Linked DNA regions of Homo sapiens: region 2 is linked to region 1. The links are contacts of gene promoters, found by promoter capture Hi-C in blood cells and fetal thymus (Javierre and others, 2016). All regions are on one chromosome and are shown on one strand. The core of a region is centred on a gene start or on the middle of the fragment in contact, and the rest is flanking DNA. Distances in the headings are between cores, read along the strand shown.

Region 1 (5,069 bases), core at 1,175-3,674:
GAGGTCGGGACAGGGTCAGTGCAGCGGCTGCCGCCTTCTTTCCACTGCCTGCAGCCCAGCTGGCCCGATGCCCCCTGCAGGAAATGAGCTTTCTCTTCTTGGAGCCAGTGCTCTGCCCTCCTCAGGCTTCTGGCCTCCTAATGAGCACTAGTGTTAACCTCTCTTCTGCACTTGCCAGAAGCGGCTCGGAGGTCAGAGAATTCATTCCGTCCCGTTCTCCCCCAACGTGATGCAATGACATCAGCCTTCTCTGAATCCCTTACCCGAAGTTCCCTGGGGCTAGGGGAGCAGAGGTCACTTAGCTGAACTCTTACCTCCACTCATTCAAGGGACAAGAGTTAAAATTCACAGAGTCACATGTGACACCCAGATGAGGGGTCAACTAGTGTCAAACAGGGCGATTGCATTAAAACTTAAATAAAACAGGCGACAAGGCTTAAAGATCAGAAAACAAGTAACGGAAATAAGTGGAAATGTACTAACAAGGTGAGAGTGGAAAGAGATTCAAGCCATCGCAAGAGATTATGGAAACCATCCCTTTATTTTATATTAGAAGCTGAGAGAAGGAATTTATCTGAGGTAATTCAGTGGTATGGTAAGGTAGGAACTGAGACCAAAATCCCCAGTCTCTCATTCTAGATCCTTTCCCTAAACAGTGCTATATTTCGTGGACACATGAGCAGGAATCAATTGCACTGCTGAATCCTGATAATAATACCGCCTGTTATCTAACCAGGTCCAGCACCTTCTGGCCCTACCCTTTGCTGCTGGTGCTCTGAAATTCAGGAACTTTCCTCCTGGGTGGGAACGATGAATAGGTTATTAGAAGGACGAAATTAACAACTATCAGAGCCCAGCTTCTGCCAGCTCCCTCCTTTGAATATGGTCGATCCACCTTCAGGTCCGAGGAGCTGCAGGTGTGACTGATGGGAATGAAGTGGCCAAGGCCCAGCAGGCAACTCCTGGGGGAGCAGCCCCAACCATCTTCTCCCGGATCCTGGACAAGAGCCTCCCAGCTGACATTCTCTATGAGGACCAGCAGGTGGGGTGCTCTTAGGACCTATCCCCTTAGGAATGTTGTAGATACCATCCAACCTGTTGAAGTAACGTGGCCTCTGGCCTGTCACTTCCCCCAGTGTCTTGTGTTCCGTGATGTGGCCCCTCAGGCTCCTGTGCACTTCCTGGTCATTCCTAAGAAGCCCATTCCTCGGATTAGCCAGGCTGAAGAAGAAGACCAGCAGGTGGGAAGAACAGGGCCAGGGTTTGGCTGGGAGGAGCCCCTGGACCCAGCTAGAGGTCTTGCTCCCTATGAATGAAGCCACCTATGTCCCTCCGCTCTCTCTATAGCTTCTAGGACACCTACTCCTTGTGGCCAAGCAGACAGCAAAGGCTGAGGGCCTGGGAGATGGATACCGACTTGGTGAGTGACTTTTGGCCCTTGGTCCCTCACCTATGAATTCTCATTCCTACTTCTCAATATGATCTTCATTCTTCGACCTCTGCCATGATCCTGACTCCCTAACCCCAAGCTCAATTTCAGTGATCAACGATGGGAAGCTGGGTGCACAATCTGTGTATCATCTGCACATTCATGTACTTGGGGGCCGGCAGCTCCAGTGGCCTCCAGGTTGAACCTGCCAACTGATTAAAGGACACCAGACTCTGGATGCTTGGATGGAAAGGGAAAAATGGACCCTGTGATGCTAATAAAACTGTTCTCCCTTAATTATGCTCTCCTGTCTTTAATATAAAATTTTATACCACAAAGGGGAAAGAAAACTGATTCAGGGCTATGATGCCCCTTGACTGGTCTGAGTGAAAGACACTGAGGAGGTCCAACCTGTGGTTAAATGTTGCCTGCAGATATGTAAGTCTTCTTGACAAGTGGTCCACCCTAGGTCAAGCTTCTAGAAAAGTAACAGTAGGAATGAGCCTAAATGAGTAGGAAGAAACTGAAAGCCAATCCTGGCCCTTCTTCAGAGGTCAAACCAGGTTCTAAGGGCGCTTAGGAGGAGGGTGGTCAATATGAGGGTCTTTTATTAGAGGAGGAGTAATCACACCCAAACAAAAGCGGCTGCCTTTTCACTATTCTACGTCTCACCATTTTGCTCAAGCTAGTTTGTTTATTTTCATCCTTAACATTTGTTAAAGACCCCACTCACTTTTGAGAATGAACTAAGCAAACTAAGGGGAAGCTACTTGCCTCTCAGCAAACACCAAGTAGGCTGTAATCTAATGCCACAACCCTGTGCCTGTTTCCAACATATCCCCATAAAGCATCATCTTAGAAAACCGCACGCAAAGACTGTTTGGACGTGGAGGGCGAGGTCTTAAGCCAGCGGAACCCTAAAACCCCGTCTGAGGCGGAATGCCGCCGGGACCGGAAAGCGGACCTCCCTAACAGCACTAGGCTGAAGACTTCCGCCCCGCAGAGGACTTGCCTCCACCGCCACCTGCAAGTCCGCCCAGCTGTACTTCTGCGCAGGCTCCAGGAGTTGTTTGCTGTCTCTATGGCAACCCAGTAGCTGGAGTCTGAAGATGGAGACCAACGAGTCTACGGAGGGATCGCGGTCGCGGTCGCGGTGAGAGCCGCAGCTCTGGCTGCAGGCATAAGGGGACGAGGAAGGTCAGCTGACTTCCTCTGCTGCGCTTTTGACAGCCATGTCGTGTTTGCTTTCTTTCAGATCTTTAGACATACAGCCCAGCTCCGAAGGACTGGGGCCCACTTCGGAACCGTTTCCTTCTTCAGATGACAGTCCCAGGTCGGCCCTGGCAGCTGCAACCGCAGCAGCTGCAGCGGCTGCATCAGCTGCTGCAGCTACTGCAGCCTTCACCACTGCCAAAGCAGCTGCATTATCTACAAAGACCCCAGCGCCCTGTTCTGAGTTCATGGAGCCGTCCTCTGACCCCAGCCTTCTTGGGGAGCCCTGTGCGGGACCCGGCTTTACCCACAATATAGCCCATGGGAGTCTTGGCTTTGAGCCCGTCTATGTTTCCTGTATTGCTCAGGACACTTGCACTACAACTGACCATAGTTCTAATCCTGGCCCTGTTCCAGGCTCTAGCTCTGGGCCTGTTCTTGGTTCCAGCTCAGGTGCTGGCCATGGCTCTGGCTCTGGCTCTGGTCCTGGCTGTGGCTCTGTCCCTGGCTCTGGCTCTGGTCCTGGTCCTGGCTCTGGTCCTGGCTCTGGTCCTGGTCATGGCTCTGGCTCTCATCCTGGTCCTGCCTCTGGGCCTGGTCCAGACACTGGCCCTGACTCTGAGCTCAGCCCCTGTATTCCTCCAGGGTTCAGAAACCTGGTGGCAGATCGGGTCCCTAACTATACCTCCTGGAGTCAGCACTGCCCCTGGGAGCCCCAGAAACAACCACCTTGGGAATTTTTGCAAGTCTTAGAACCGGGTGCCCGAGGACTATGGAAACCCCCAGACATTAAAGGGAAGCTTATGGTTTGCTATGAAACTTTGCCGCGGGGCCAGTGCCTCCTCTACAACTGGGAGGAAGAGGTATTAAAGTTTTGGCCTGCTCCCTTTTCTTGAAGGCTGCCCTCAGTTTCTTAGGGGAGGCAGTAGTTTACATGAGGGTGGGTACCAGAAGGGATATTATAGTCATTCAACTTGGGATCCACAGAGAGCCACCAACCACCTGGATCAAGTCCCAAGCATGCAGGATGGCTCTGAGAGTTTTTTCTTCCGACACGGACACCGGGGACTGCTGACTATGCAACTAAAGTCACCCATGCCCTCCAGCACCACCCAGAAAGACTCGTACCAGCCACCAGGAAACGTCTATTGGCCACTTCGAGGTGTGAAATGTGAGAGGGTAGGCCAGAACGAGCCCATTACTCAGAGGGAAGAAGAGGAAGGAATTTCTGGTGGGGCTGTGGATTCTCCAGTGGATATAAGGGCGGAACCCCAAGGTTCTTCTTCCTTTTCTCAAGTTAGTTTCTTCTGGGCCTCCTTCTTAACCAGACCCCACCTTGCCCACCCCCCAACTCTCTCACAGGGAAGCGTGAAGCCATGCTGGAGATGCTCCTGCAGCATCAGATCTGGTAAGGGATTGGGTAAAGGGGAAGAGGGATGGGGAGGAGAAAAATTGGGTGAGAATGGCCTTGACACCCCTCGGGCTACATAGTAAAGAGGTGCAGGCAGAACAGGAACCCACAAGGAAGCTCTTCGAGGTTGAGTCTGTGACACACCATGACTACCGAATGGAGCTGGCACAAGCAGGGACTCCTGCCCCAACAAAGGTGAGAACCCACCCCCCATCCCCCGCCACTTGCACCAGCTGGGCTCTGACAGGCTGTGGCCAAGTACCAAGCCCAGAGGTTGAGAGAGAGGGCTGAAGGCCAGGAGTTACTCAGTACCCTCCCTCACAGCCTCACGACTACCGCCAGGAGCAACCTGAGACCTTCTGGATACAGAGGGCACCACAGCTGCCGGTGTGTGAGGGTGACTAGGTGTTGGGGGCAGAGCGGGGCAGGAAAGGTAGGGCAGAGTTGTTTTGTTCTGGCTTGGGGAGAGTGGGATCCATCCTCATCCTGGCACTCCTCCAGGGTGTCAGTAACATCAGGACATTGGACACACCATTCCGGAAGAACTGCAGCTTCTCAACACCAGTACCCTTGTCTCTGGGGAAACTTTTGCCCTATGAACCTGAGAATTACCCCTACCAATTGGGAGAAATATCTTCCCTTCCCTGTCCCGGAGGAAGGCTGGGTGGTGGAGGGGGGAGAATGACTCCTTTCTGAGGGGTGAGGAGGGAAGTGGGGTATGGAATATGGAATCTATTTCTGTCTGCACTAGAGAGGTCGGGAGGAAGTTAATTCTCACTGTACTTGAAGAGGCTTTACATAAAGGGTTCTCTCTCATCCCAAGACTGCTAATTTAGTGATTCTGTGAGTCACTGTGTGCATACCCCATAACCTTTCCTTGGGATTGCCCCTATCCCACACTATGACATCAGAACTTTTTTTATTATTGTTTTATATTTGACCAAAATATTCTGGTTTAGATACAGATATTTACAGAAAGTAGGGAGGAAGGGGACCAAGCCAGAGAGGGACAGGTAT
Region 2 (2,500 bases), core at 1-2,500, 730 kb after region 1:
GTTATTGCAGGGAGATGGGAGGATAAACAACATCTGTCACCTCCATGGAGAGAGGTGCCCTTCTCTGTGCTCTTCAGACCAGGTTGAGGTATTATTATTGTGACCTTTGGGGTCCTGCAGGAGAGGAAAGCCAGAGTGTGTGGGGAGATGGAGGATGAGGTGCTACTTCAGCTGTGTGTGTGTCTATGTGTGTGTGTATACTCTACAGTGCTGGAGACACAGGAGCAGCAGGGGCCCAGGTTGGAACAGGGGCTCAGGGAGCTGTGGGACTCTGTCCTTCGTGCTTCCTGCCTTCTGCCGGAGCTGCTGTCTGCCCTGCACCGCCTGGTTGGCCTGCAGGCTGCCCTCTGGTTGAGTGCTGACCGTCTTGGGGACCTGGCCTTGTTACTAGAGACCCTGAATGGCAGCCAGGTAATAGGGAAAGTGACCTGAAGCTGAGGGTCTCCTCCTTCCTTCCTCCTCCTTTCTCTCCAGCTGCAGTAGCATCATCATGTACTGGACAGGCGGCTGGGTTGGTGGTCGGAAAACCTGGATTCTCTCTGGGACTCTTGGGTGACCTTGCCCTGGTTGGTCTCTCATTGTGGGGATTCTCTTAGGAGTGTTTTTTAAAAATTGGACAGGCATGGTGGCTCATACCTGTAATCTCAGCACTTTGGGAGGCTGAGGTAGGAGGATCACTTGAACCCAAGAGGTGGAGGCAACAGTGAGTTGTGAGCTATGATCACGCCACTGCACTCCAGCCCTGCAGCCTGGGTGACAGAGGGAGACCCTGTCTCAAAAAAAAAAAAAATTTTTTTTTGGATAGGGATAGGGCTCTTGTGATCTTGCTCAAGTCAGCTCTCAGCCTTAGTCTCCTTATTAGTAACTCAAATATGGTCCTTGCCCTGAGTGAGGAGGCACGCTGGAATAGATCATCACTGCCCCAGGTTTTTCTTCCTTTTTTTTAATTCTTGCCTCATAGCTATCTATCTCTTAGAATTGGGGGAAACTACAGGCATTATGCATAGCTTCTTGCTTTGTAAGGGTAGCTGAGGCCTGTGTCCTCAAGGATCAAGAGGACCCTTGAGCTCAAGGTCTAGCCAGGATAGATGGAGATAGGAGAAGACGAGGAGGTTGTAGGCTTGGAGCTTCTGGTTGTCCTTCTTTCCCCAGAGTGGAGCCTCTAAGGATCTGCTGTTACTTCTGAAAACTTGGAGTCCCCCAGCTGAGGAATTAGATGCTCCATTGACCCTGCAGGATGCCCAGGGATTGAAGGATGTCCTCCTGACAGCATTTGCCTACCGCCAAGGTCAGCTAGCAACCTGACTCATCTCTTCTACCTTTAAGTGGTCCTCCAGACTCATGCCCTCTCTCTTGTCCCATTCAGTTCCATGGGCTTCTTAGACCCTTGTTCCCCATCATGACCCCTGCTCTATAGCCCTCTCCAAGCTCACACCCTGACTGTCCTCAGGTCTCCAGGAGCTGATCACAGGGAACCCAGACAAGGCACTAAGCAGCCTTCATGAAGCGGCCTCAGGCCTGTGTCCACGGCCTGTGTTGGTCCAGGTGTACACAGCACTGGGGTCCTGTCACCGTAAGATGGTAAAGACAGTCCTAGGGTGGATTGGGGAAACCACAAGCATTATGTATAGCTTTTTGCTTTGTAAGGGTAGCTGAGGCCCGTGTCCTCCTATCCCTTTAGGGAAATCCACAGAGAGCACTGTTGTACTTGGTTGCAGCCCTGAAAGAGGGATCAGCCTGGGGTCCTCCACTTCTGGAGGCCTCTAGGCTCTATCAGCAACTGGGGGACACAACAGCAGAGCTGGAGAGTCTGGAGCTGCTAGTTGAGGTAGGGAACTGCCAGGTGAAGATGTGGGGTGGAGGATTCCTGAGGTGCTTGTGATGGGGTGACTTGACTAGTCAAGATCCAAGTATAAGGAAGTATGGCTCCCAAAGATTATAGATACAATTTTTTTCTTTCTCTTTTAGGCCTTGAATGTCCCATGCAGTTCCAAAGCCCCGCAGTTTCTCATTGAGGTAGAATTACTACTGCCACCACCTGACCTAGCCTCACCCCTTCATTGTGGCACTCAGAGCCAGACCAAGCACATACTAGCAAGCAGGTGCCTACAGACGGGGAGGTGAGGTTCCCCTTGCTCACCTGAGCTTCTCTTCCCACTTCTGATGCCTCCCCTGGGGTGTGACTCTGCTTTTGTTCTTGTGACTTGGGGGATGAATGAGGCAGTGGCAGGACATAGGTCGCCACTCCTCAGCCTCTTACCTTGCTTCTAGACCTGAACTGAGGACTCTTCTCTAAGACATTAACCTTCTCTATCTTTGACACTCTGAAGTCTCTTCCCCAGTCCATTCTGTAACTGGGGTAGATCCATACTGAGCCAAAATTGGAGCCCTAAGACCTTCCCTCCCTTTCTCCTCCTCAGGGCCCATGAACATCCATCTGTTAGCTAAGAGAGAACATTCTCAGGACCCTTGCAGGTTCCCTGCTAGGGCCTAGGGTGAG

Evidence for each region. Contacts are between HindIII fragments. The CHiCAGO score rates a contact against its expected background, and 5 or more counts as called.
Region 2: a fragment that was not itself captured here is called in contact with the fragment with the promoter of SPAG8 in region 1 in 1 of 17 cell types (non-activated CD4 T cells); the score reaches 6.2 in non-activated CD4 T cells.

The regions. Positions count from the first base shown.
Region 1 is chr9:35,809,617-35,814,685 of GRCh38, reverse strand. SPAG8 (sperm associated antigen 8) reads left to right here and starts at 2,424. Exons shown (of 7, transcript NM_001039592.2): 1 at 2,424-2,582; 2 at 2,685-3,504; 3 at 3,629-3,803; 4 at 4,004-4,049; 5 at 4,133-4,247; 6 at 4,377-4,439; 7 at 4,554-4,891. The coding sequence starts at 2,539. The coding sequence ends at 4,748. HINT2 (histidine triad nucleotide binding protein 2) reads left to right here. Exons shown (of 5, transcript NM_032593.3): 2 at 902-1,042; 3 at 1,137-1,241; 4 at 1,348-1,420; 5 at 1,541-1,726. The coding sequence ends at 1,632. It overlaps NPR2 (natriuretic peptide receptor 2), which reads right to left. Exons shown (of 22, transcript NM_003995.4): 22 at 4,955-5,069. RefSeq lists enhancers at 2,606-2,655, 2,350-2,906. The HindIII fragment of the contact is 1,537 bases long and covers 1,907-3,443 here.
Region 2 is chr9:35,076,052-35,078,551 of GRCh38, reverse strand. It overlaps FANCG (FA complementation group G), which reads left to right. Exons shown (of 14, transcript NM_004629.2): 4 at 209-411; 5 at 1,153-1,288; 6 at 1,451-1,581; 7 at 1,682-1,828; 8 at 1,969-2,120. Among named protein-coding and RNA genes, the nearest start is that of FANCG, 2.6 kb to the left of the region's middle. The HindIII fragment of the contact is 2,719 bases long and covers 1-2,500 here.